Linked DNA regions of Homo sapiens: all the other regions are linked to region 1. The links are contacts of gene promoters, found by promoter capture Hi-C in blood cells and fetal thymus (Javierre and others, 2016). All regions are on one chromosome and are shown on one strand. The core of a region is centred on a gene start or on the middle of the fragment in contact, and the rest is flanking DNA. Distances in the headings are between cores, read along the strand shown. Region 1 holds the start of RLIG1 (RNA 5'-phosphate and 3'-OH ligase 1). Region 2 has its middle 22 kb from the start of LINC02458. Region 3 holds the start of LINC02458 (long intergenic non-protein coding RNA 2458).

What was found. The method cuts DNA at HindIII sites, captures the fragments that hold promoters and counts their contacts. A CHiCAGO score of 5 or more calls a contact.
Region 2: a contact is called between a fragment that was not itself captured here and the fragment with the promoter of RLIG1 in region 1, in 4 of 17 cell types (M0 macrophages, monocytes, M1 macrophages and 1 more). The highest score is 14.8, in M0 macrophages.
Region 3: a contact is called between a fragment that was not itself captured here and the fragment with the promoter of RLIG1 in region 1, in 4 of 17 cell types (naive CD4 T cells, monocytes, activated CD4 T cells and 1 more). The highest score is 6.1, in naive CD4 T cells.

The regions. Positions count from the first base shown.
Region 1 is chr12:88,033,805-88,036,852 of GRCh38, forward strand. It overlaps RLIG1 (RNA 5'-phosphate and 3'-OH ligase 1), which reads left to right and starts at 1,732. Exons shown (of 7, transcript NM_001009894.3): 1 at 1,732-1,934. The coding sequence starts at 1,845. It overlaps LOC107984542 (a long non-coding RNA gene), which reads right to left and starts at 1,692. Exons shown (of 3, transcript XR_007063395.1): 1 at 1,610-1,692; 2 at 1-543. The HindIII fragment of the contact is 2,128 bases long and covers 159-2,286 here.
Region 2 is chr12:88,996,348-88,999,274 of GRCh38, forward strand. No RefSeq gene overlaps it. Among named protein-coding and RNA genes, the nearest start is that of LINC02458, 22 kb to the right of the region's middle. The HindIII fragment of the contact is 1,857 bases long and covers 468-2,324 here.
Region 3 is chr12:89,017,337-89,020,178 of GRCh38, forward strand. It overlaps LINC02458 (long intergenic non-protein coding RNA 2458), which reads right to left and starts at 2,356. Exons shown (of 3, transcript NR_038385.1): 1 at 2,217-2,356. The HindIII fragment of the contact is 6,702 bases long and covers 1-2,842 here.

The sequences.
Region 1 (3,048 bases), core at 482-2,981:
TTTAAGTACAGTGGCTGGTAGCAACTCCTTGGTGACCCTTCAGAATTATGAGAATCGGGCAAAGTTGATGGCTGCTACCCGTCAGAGCAGGAGTCCAGTTTATAACCGTGAGTTGATCCTGTGCCTCTCCCCTGATGAGGATTTGTGTTTCTGCCAGAAGCTTTGCTCCAGGTACTGATGAAACCAAAGTTTTGGAAATAGAAAGTGCTTCCTGAGAGATGACTAGCTTTGCAACTACTATTCAAAGAATAAGTAGAGTGTGTTTTAGAAGATGAGTATTTCCCACAAATGACAGAATGTTGGACTTAAAAGGTTCTGTGGCAGTTTGGGAGGTGACAGTTGATAGTTGTGAAAGTTGTTGTCTCTGAGATTCGTGAAACACGCCGCTTTTTAGAATGCCTCTGAAAGAACAAAGAAGTCACTGGCACTCGACTATAATATGCTAAAAAGTTTCTGGTTCCAACAGCACACAGCCAGCATCAGGTGTTTTCTTTTTTGATAAATGCAGGCGGGGTGTGATGTGGGAGAACATTTTGTGTTTTCCTGTGAGAAAAAGATAGTAGAAAAGAAAGTAAACACTTTGAAATGGCAAATCTCTTTCTTCCTCCCTCCCCTCTGAATCCAGTAATCAAAAAACTGTGAACTTTTTTTAAATTTTATTTTTTTTCACTGTCAGTATTCAATATAACTGTGAACTTTTTAAAGGAAGATGTTTTATTCTTTGAGAACCCCCTTACTAGTTAGATACCTCTAAGTGAGATATAGTTGTTTAATTTTTCCAAGGGCTAAGTCAGTAACATGCTGGACAGTTGAGTACATGCAGATAAGACAAAGAAATGAGACCTGGGCCTAGTCCAAGCCCATAAAGGATGGCAGTAAAGTCAAAATTCCCCTACAACTTCAGGCTAGGAACTACTACATTCAATGAGATGGAAAGGCTACTATTCCTAAATATTTAGTATTTATTTTATTTAGTCATTGTCCATCTTATCACTTACCCTCAAAATATTCTTTTGAGCAGTAAGTTAAGGCTGTTTTTAGCTCGCAGTTGATTGACTACCATTACTCAAGCCATTTGGGCTGTTGGAGCTCACCTTTAATTAAACAAGATTCTTATGAAAAACTTGAGAATGAAATCTGGTTGTAGGTATTCCTGTACTTTTGGATTAGTCTAAGGCTGAAATTTCGCACTCACTCCGAAAAGAACATCAGAATCATTTCGACCATGCTATGCTGCACAATAAGGAGTAGTTCAAACGACAACTTTTTTTGATCCCAGGTGTTTTATTATAGGGTTTTCTGATAGTCTTACCGGAAAGGAAGTTTTCATTCTGCTTGGGAATCTGGGGATGTCTCTAGCCATTTCTAAACTTCTACAGTGCTTCCCCCACGAACTAAAGATAACAGGCAAGCAGTTTCCATTGGAACTGTGTTAAATCGACATCTGAAATGTTCATTGCTTATAATTTGATCTTATTTAATTTCCCAAAAAATCATTAGTTACTAGGTATTGCTAAGTACCCACGTTCGGGAAACGCATCTTTTTTTTTTTTTTTTCACGGTTATTAAAACCGAGGGTGGGGGGCGGAGGACGCACGTGGGAACCCACCAGGCGCCTCAGCTTCTGCACTACAACTCCCAGAAGGCGCCGCGGCCAGGAAGCCGCTTCTGGACGGGCGTTCCCGCCCCTCGCTGGGCTTGGTAGTTGGGGCGCAGCCGCGGTGGCTGGGCGCGGAGTGTGCGTGGCCTGAGCCGTGCGGGTGACTGCTTCAGGGCTTCTCCGCGACTGGACCGGGCGCCGCTCGAAAGCACGCCCTCCATTCGCACTGCTTGTTGGGCTCATCATGAAGCGCTTGGGCTCCGTGCAGCGGAAAATGCCGTGTGTGTTTGTGACGGAGGTGAAAGAGGAGCCTTCCTCCAAAAGGGAGCATCAGGTACGGAGGAGCGCCGGGCAGGCTTGGCGGCCCGCGTGGGCTCCTCCCCGCGGCGCTGGCTCAGTGCGAACCCGGCGAGGGCGGCTGGGCGCTTTAGAACTGCCCTGCAGGCCAGGAACCTCTGTAGGTTTCCCTGGGGAGGTCTGGGGTGGGAGTTCCGTACGCCCTGAGCTCCAGGTTCTTGTACTTTTCTTAGTTGTGAGGGAGGGAATTTGCGAAAGAATTTTCCTTATCAGGAGATTCAAACTTGTCCTCGCAAGGAAATGGATAACTCACATCCACAGCATGTCCCTTCCTTTTCAGGTCAGCACCTTTTGGGGAAACCCCCTAATCAGGTAATTGCCACAGTCCAAGCTTTACTACTTTTCAAGAGTGCAGTAAGAAAGGGTGGATATTAGAAGACTTGCTTTACCTGTTCTGTCCGAACCAGTGGCGGTGTTGACAGTAGCCTAATTAGGTCACTGAAGTTCACACCTCATATTACCAGTAATTACTTAATTTATTCTAACTTTGGTGTTCTCAAGGTTTTCTGTTGCAGCAACGTGTTTTCCATAGTGTGCCCTCGGTAAATGCTAGTGAGTAACCTATATTTGGGTAATTTTTTCATATTGTACTATAAAACGTTGTAGTCTTTGATCAGTAGAATCCCCAGTGATTAGTTGGGTGCTTCCCAACTTTGCTGATTTCAAACAAAACCAACATGTCCATTGGAAATCCACCTCACTTGAGTTTCATCATTGGCACTGGCTTTCTCGTCTTCTGGACTAAAACTTGTTTAAGGCAAAGATTGCCCTGTTATCTTTAGTCCCAGCTTCTAGGACCTGGCACGTGGTAGGCACTGGATAAATATTTGTTGAATTAAAGAATGAACCCTGGAATCATTTCATGCCAGTTTTCCATTCACCTTGATGCTTTTTACCTTATAGCATCTGATCTTTTCCTGCTTTCTAGTGCTGTCACAGCTGTTACAGTTAATATTTCATGTCCTGCTCATTGCACCACCTAACTGGTCTTACTTGCCACTCAGACTGATCATCACCATGTTCTTTCCTCGTCAGAATACCACAGTTATTACTCAATGTTTGTAGCAGTAATTGGCTTTTTTTTTTAGCTG
Region 2 (2,927 bases), core at 146-2,645, 960 kb after region 1:
ATAAAACACTGGGTCGCTTTAACTATAACATGGAACATAAAGTAGAGAGGGCATGACTACACAGAAATGTAAGCAGATGTTTTTGGGTGGGATTTACATAAAATCTCTTTAAGTGACCTTAATTTGGCATGAATTTTTTTTCTCTCCTCCATTTTATTGCTTTCTCCTTGGAATATGAATGTGATGGCTGGATTCCAGCAAACATCTTGTGACTTTGAGGAAGGAAGTGACATGGAGTGAGTGAGCAAGGAAAAAAAATGAGTCTGGATTTTTATGACTTTGTGCATTCATCTTACTAGTTATAGATCACCTACCTTTGCACTACCCCATCCCTTTTACTCTCTCCTTCCACAGAGTGAACCATGATCCTCTAACTGGTGTGCATCATCCCATAAATTTTTACTTTATTGCATATGAATCGAAAATAAATGTATCATTTTGTGTTATATTAATTAGGATGCATATTAAGCTTCTATAAAAAAGAAACCCCAAAATATAATGGTTCAAAAATTCCATGGCTCATAGAGTCCAGTGATAGGCTAGCAATTCAGGGCAGATGTCTTTACCCACAAGATTAGCCAAGATCTAGATTCCCTCTCTTGTTGCTGCATCATGACCTCGGGTGTCTTCATAGTTGAAGCTGGCATTCTTGCATTCTAGCCATTGGAAAGGGAAAAGAGAGGGAGGGTGGATGTGCAGCCCCCTTTCACATTTATGGATATAAAATTGAAGTTGTACACATAATTCTATTCACACCATATGGGGCAGAATTTTACTCATGGCTGTACCTAGCTTCAAGGGAGGCTGGATAATATCTGCCAGTATAACCATATACATTGCTGAATCTTGGGCAATGGGCTCTTCTCTCGTTGGAAGAGAGAAGGGTAGACTGGATTCTAAGCCAAAATTAGTAACTCGTAGGTTTTTAACATTTATATAAATTGACTGCATTGTGTGTATCTTTCAGTAATTAAGTTTTTTACATTTGATATTGCATTTTTTACATTTGTTCCTGTTACATTAAATAAATTTTAATCGCTTTAATAATTGTATTGCACTCATTCTAGGGATAAATCATACATTATCTGTTCATCTACTGGTGGATGAGATATAAAATTCTAGTAAACCCATCTTCTCTTGTAGTGTTGAACCAATACAAAATCAGTCTAAGCATGTGGGAAATTGCATTTAAAAATGGTGGCTTTCGAGTACACCATGAGGCAAGCTATTCCAGAGGTCATAGAATGGAGAGGTTTACTGGTCAAGTTAAGATGCTCAAATCACATGGCTTACTAAATTAATATAAAACATAGTAAGAAGAAAAGGGAAAGATATGGCATAAGTTAATACAGTTAGGATAGGATGCAAGCAAGATAAAGGGACCACGCTAGCTGAATCCTGTGTCTCTGTGGCACCAGTCTTCCCTCCTGATGATAGGGTTGTGAGGACCAGAGTTGAATTTTGAGGCAAGGGGGTCTCCAGATAAAAGGTGGCTGAGCCAACATATATTCTTGCTCTGTTGAAGAGACCCAGGGGCAATTAACCTGATAAGCAACTATAAATTTTTAATTGCTTTTCCTGGGCAGAGAACTTGTAGGGCCAGAATGGATGACCGATTTTAGACTTACTGCTGCTTCATGCATATCATCAGTATTAGGTGCTTCAGTGCCTCATATCTATTTAATGAATTATAAATATTTAGATCCTCTTCATTCTTCTTTACTTTTTATCTGTGTTTAGCACTCATATGCTCTAATTACTTTATCCATGTCTGTCATCTTACAGGTTACTGACTTATATATAATTAAACATATTAAATGAGTTTCATCAATCCCATTTGTATTTCCTATCTTCTACAACAGAATTGAATATTCTAAAATAATAAAAAAAATACATAGTGTAAGTTAGGGCAGACCTTTCCTATAAGAGGGGAAAGCCTTTACCACTAACTTCATGACATGGTCAAGAGTAATTGTCAGACCTCTTCCAAAGTAGAAGAGATGAAGACATGCCTGGTTTCTTTTTGCAAAATCACCCATATGGTAAATCACTTCACCTCTCCAAGTGCTAAGTGAGTGGATATAGAGAGGTCAGGAAGGTTATACAAATGCAGATAGTTCCACTTAAAAGACAACAGCAGCAGTATGGAATATTTCCCTCTCAAATGAAACTAGAATTCACAGATGAAGAACAAAAACATTACTGTTATAACCTACAAGGCTGGTATCAGGAAATGTAGCTTACATCTGGCAGAGAAGTGGGTTTCATAATGTTGAACTCCGGAATTAGGCTGACTTACTCACAGTCAGTACTGGACCGATACAAGCTTCACACATGGGGAAAAGATTTTCATGACTAAGATTAATGTGGCCCATAATCTTGAGAGCAACTGGGAGCAGTGTCAGTTCCCAGATTCACTTGCCCAGTTCCAGACCCCAAATCAATAGTCAGGTTATTCTCTCCTTATTGGGAGGAGCGAGTGAGGGTGGATGGAAATGAAGTATCTGGAGCAAAAAAAAAAAAAAAAAAAAAAAGTTCTTCCTGACAATTTCCAGTTTTTATCTTAATCTACTGGGTTTAACCATTAAAAGTATAATCAGACAAGGAGAAGATCATTCTATTAGGGTAGCCCCATTCCTATGTTTACAAGGCCTCTTTCTAACACCAACCATTACTCCTTTGGGTTCTTCTTGGAACCACTGCTAATGTAGAGAGCACCCTCCAAAGTCAAGTGTAGAGTAAACTCTCAAAAGGTTCTGAACATGTCAGAGTGGTAAATTAGTTATGTTAGCTCCAAGCCCACTCCATATCAGTGCTGAAATTCACTGTCTATTTTGTCTAGCATCATTGTCCAATATGACTCATGAGAAATTAATATTCAAAGATTAAAGATATACCTGTCAAAAATCTAATTATTTTGCCATTGT
Region 3 (2,842 bases), core at 338-2,837, 980 kb after region 1:
TCTACAGTCAACAGATGGCGCTCTAGTTCCAATTGTTACAGAAGTTCTCTGCCCATCCGCAAGCAAAGCGTTGTTTTCATCAGTGAAAAGAGAATAAACACTGTGCTTTAACTTTTTTACGTAGCTAAAGAAAATAAATAAAGCGTCTTAATTCCTTTCAGAGATTACTTTCAACTCAATTATGAAGTTAATATTAGACAGCGACTTTTAGAACAGAAGTCATACTTGAAAATATTATGCATATCAAAACAGCAGATAGAGTTTTAAAAAGCAAGAGTTTTACAAGCAGATAGACCTGGATTCTAATTTAAACCCTACCATTTTCTCACTGTGCGTCCTTGAGCAATTTGCTGAAACTCTTTGAATCTCAGTTTCCTCTTCTGCAAAATTTTGACAATAATACCTACTTCTGAAGGTAGTTTTGACAATTAGAAATAATGTCACATGCTTTGCAAAACATTTAGTATGTAGTAACTACTCAGAAAGATATAGCTATTCTAATTAGTGACAGAGAACATACAAACATACAGGTAGGATTTCTCTGCCTTAGATCATATGTGTTTAAATGAGTTTGAAGCATCAGAGATCTAGTTGTAAATTCTGAGTAAGCTGAAAGTGTTATACGGTTATGCTTTCTCTAAACCAATCATTGAAGTGATGCCATATTAATATGGCAGAAAGTTTGTAATATATTTTTAGGTAGAGAGAAAAAAACAGATTATAAAATGGTAATATAGTGTCATCCCAATTTTGTTTAAAAACAGTATACATCTAGTAAGATATAAACCAAAATGTTAAGGTTAGTTATCACTGGTTTATGAGACTATAGTTTATTTCTATATTTTTAACACTTTTCTGCATTTTTAATATTTTCTATAATAAATAAGTATTCATTTTTCATGACAAAAAGAAATGTCATGTAATAATATGAAGTCAAACATATATCAAATATTGATACTGCAAAAGTTTTCTTTTGTGAACCAGTTGAATCCATAGAAGGACCGCTCTCAGAGCTCAAACACAGTGCTCCAGGGTGCTACCTGCTGCTTAGAATTCTCCATAGGAGAAACGAGAAAAAGAAAAACCAAGCCCAGTTATGCTTCTCTGTGCCAGTTTTTCAAGCCAGCATATATAGAAGTATCTAGAAGATATACAAATGATTAGGAAACAGGAAGTTCAGCCAGCCACATTATTTAGGATCATGTCAAATACATCCCTAAAAATTAAAAAGTAATAATGATTTCCGTATTTCTTATTAATCTTAATTCGTGAGACAAGGCCTTTGTATCAATTCATAATAAATTTAGGAGTATTCGTGAAAAATTTTAAATACAATATATACTTTGACCAGCAACCCCACTTCATGGACACTGACCTACAGAAAGACACATTTGTGTACCAAGTTTCATGGCCAAGAATTGTACAGGAAAACATTGTAAGAACAAAGATTTCCACTAAAGGGGAAATGATTTTAACATTATGAGACATTTATACTATGTAATGCTATCCATCTGCCAAACAGAATGCTATAGACTTCTACATATGGACATGGAATGATCTCCTACACGTATTAACTGTAAGAAAAATAAGCAAATTCAAGAACTATTTCCCAAAGAAACCCCTTTTATGTTTTAATAAATCTATATGTGTGTATAGATTTGTATATTTATATATGTAAATACATAGAAATATTGAAAAGGTCTAGAAAGATACATACCCAGTTATTAACAATGACTATGTCTAGGAAAGGTCGTTTTTAAAACTTTATATTTTCTGAATTGTTTTAATTCCTTCATACACACACATTTCCATTTATAAACTTGAATTCAGTTGAACTCTTGGCAGGGATGGAAGACATGGTGTCCATCTAGCCACAGAGACATAACTGATAGCTCAGACTGGTAGGAGAATCAATTAACGCACTCATTCAACAAACATTTATTGAATATTTACAAGATGCCAAGCCTATGCTAGAAACTGTAGGTGCAAAAATGAAAATAGTAAAACATTGTCTCTGTCTTCAAATTTTCCACGAAGGTATACATACCTCATTAAAAAAATCTGGATTTTCACTTGTTCTTTATCTTATATGTTTTTTATAAAGTTAGTAGAAACAACGGTTTCTTAGTGTTGCAGAAAACGCAGTAATGAATCATTAACAATGAATCATTAACAATGAATCAACAGTGGCTCGAGGAAACATCTTTATGACTTACATCATTAAGATTTGAAGAATTGATTCTGCTCCCACCTCCTAACATATACCCTTCTACCCCTAAGCTCACGGTTGATGCCAAAATCTCTTTATTGTGAGTTACACGGAGACAGGAGCAGCGACGCAAGCTACGTGAAGTCTACTAAATCCACTGTTGCCCTCTCGGTAAACCAGTATGAATGCAGCAACAGGAAGGACCACAAGATGGCAGACTGGAAACGAGTCATGGAGCCTACAGCAGGCGATGAGGTGCTACAGCCAGTGGAATCCCGTAGCCCTGGCATCTGAAGAGAGACTGGGAAGGGCTTTATAGATCTGTTGAACGGAGGGATCAGAGCGAAGAACAATTTTGGCACCACTCTAGTGCTTGCTCACATCTCTTAGTGTTCTATTTAGTTGTTTTTACCATCTAAAAAACAAACCATGTTCATCTCTTCTTCCCACCCCAAATAGATAGTCATACTCATCAAAATCAATCATAGCTTTCTATTTTAGTATGATTGAGTAGCAGAATTTTTAAATTGGACAGGATCTCCCCAAATTTGAGGATGAGGTGCTTCATGCATAGGGAGGAGGCAGAAAGATAGATAGGGACCTGGTGGGACAAAGAAGCACAAGTCCACATTG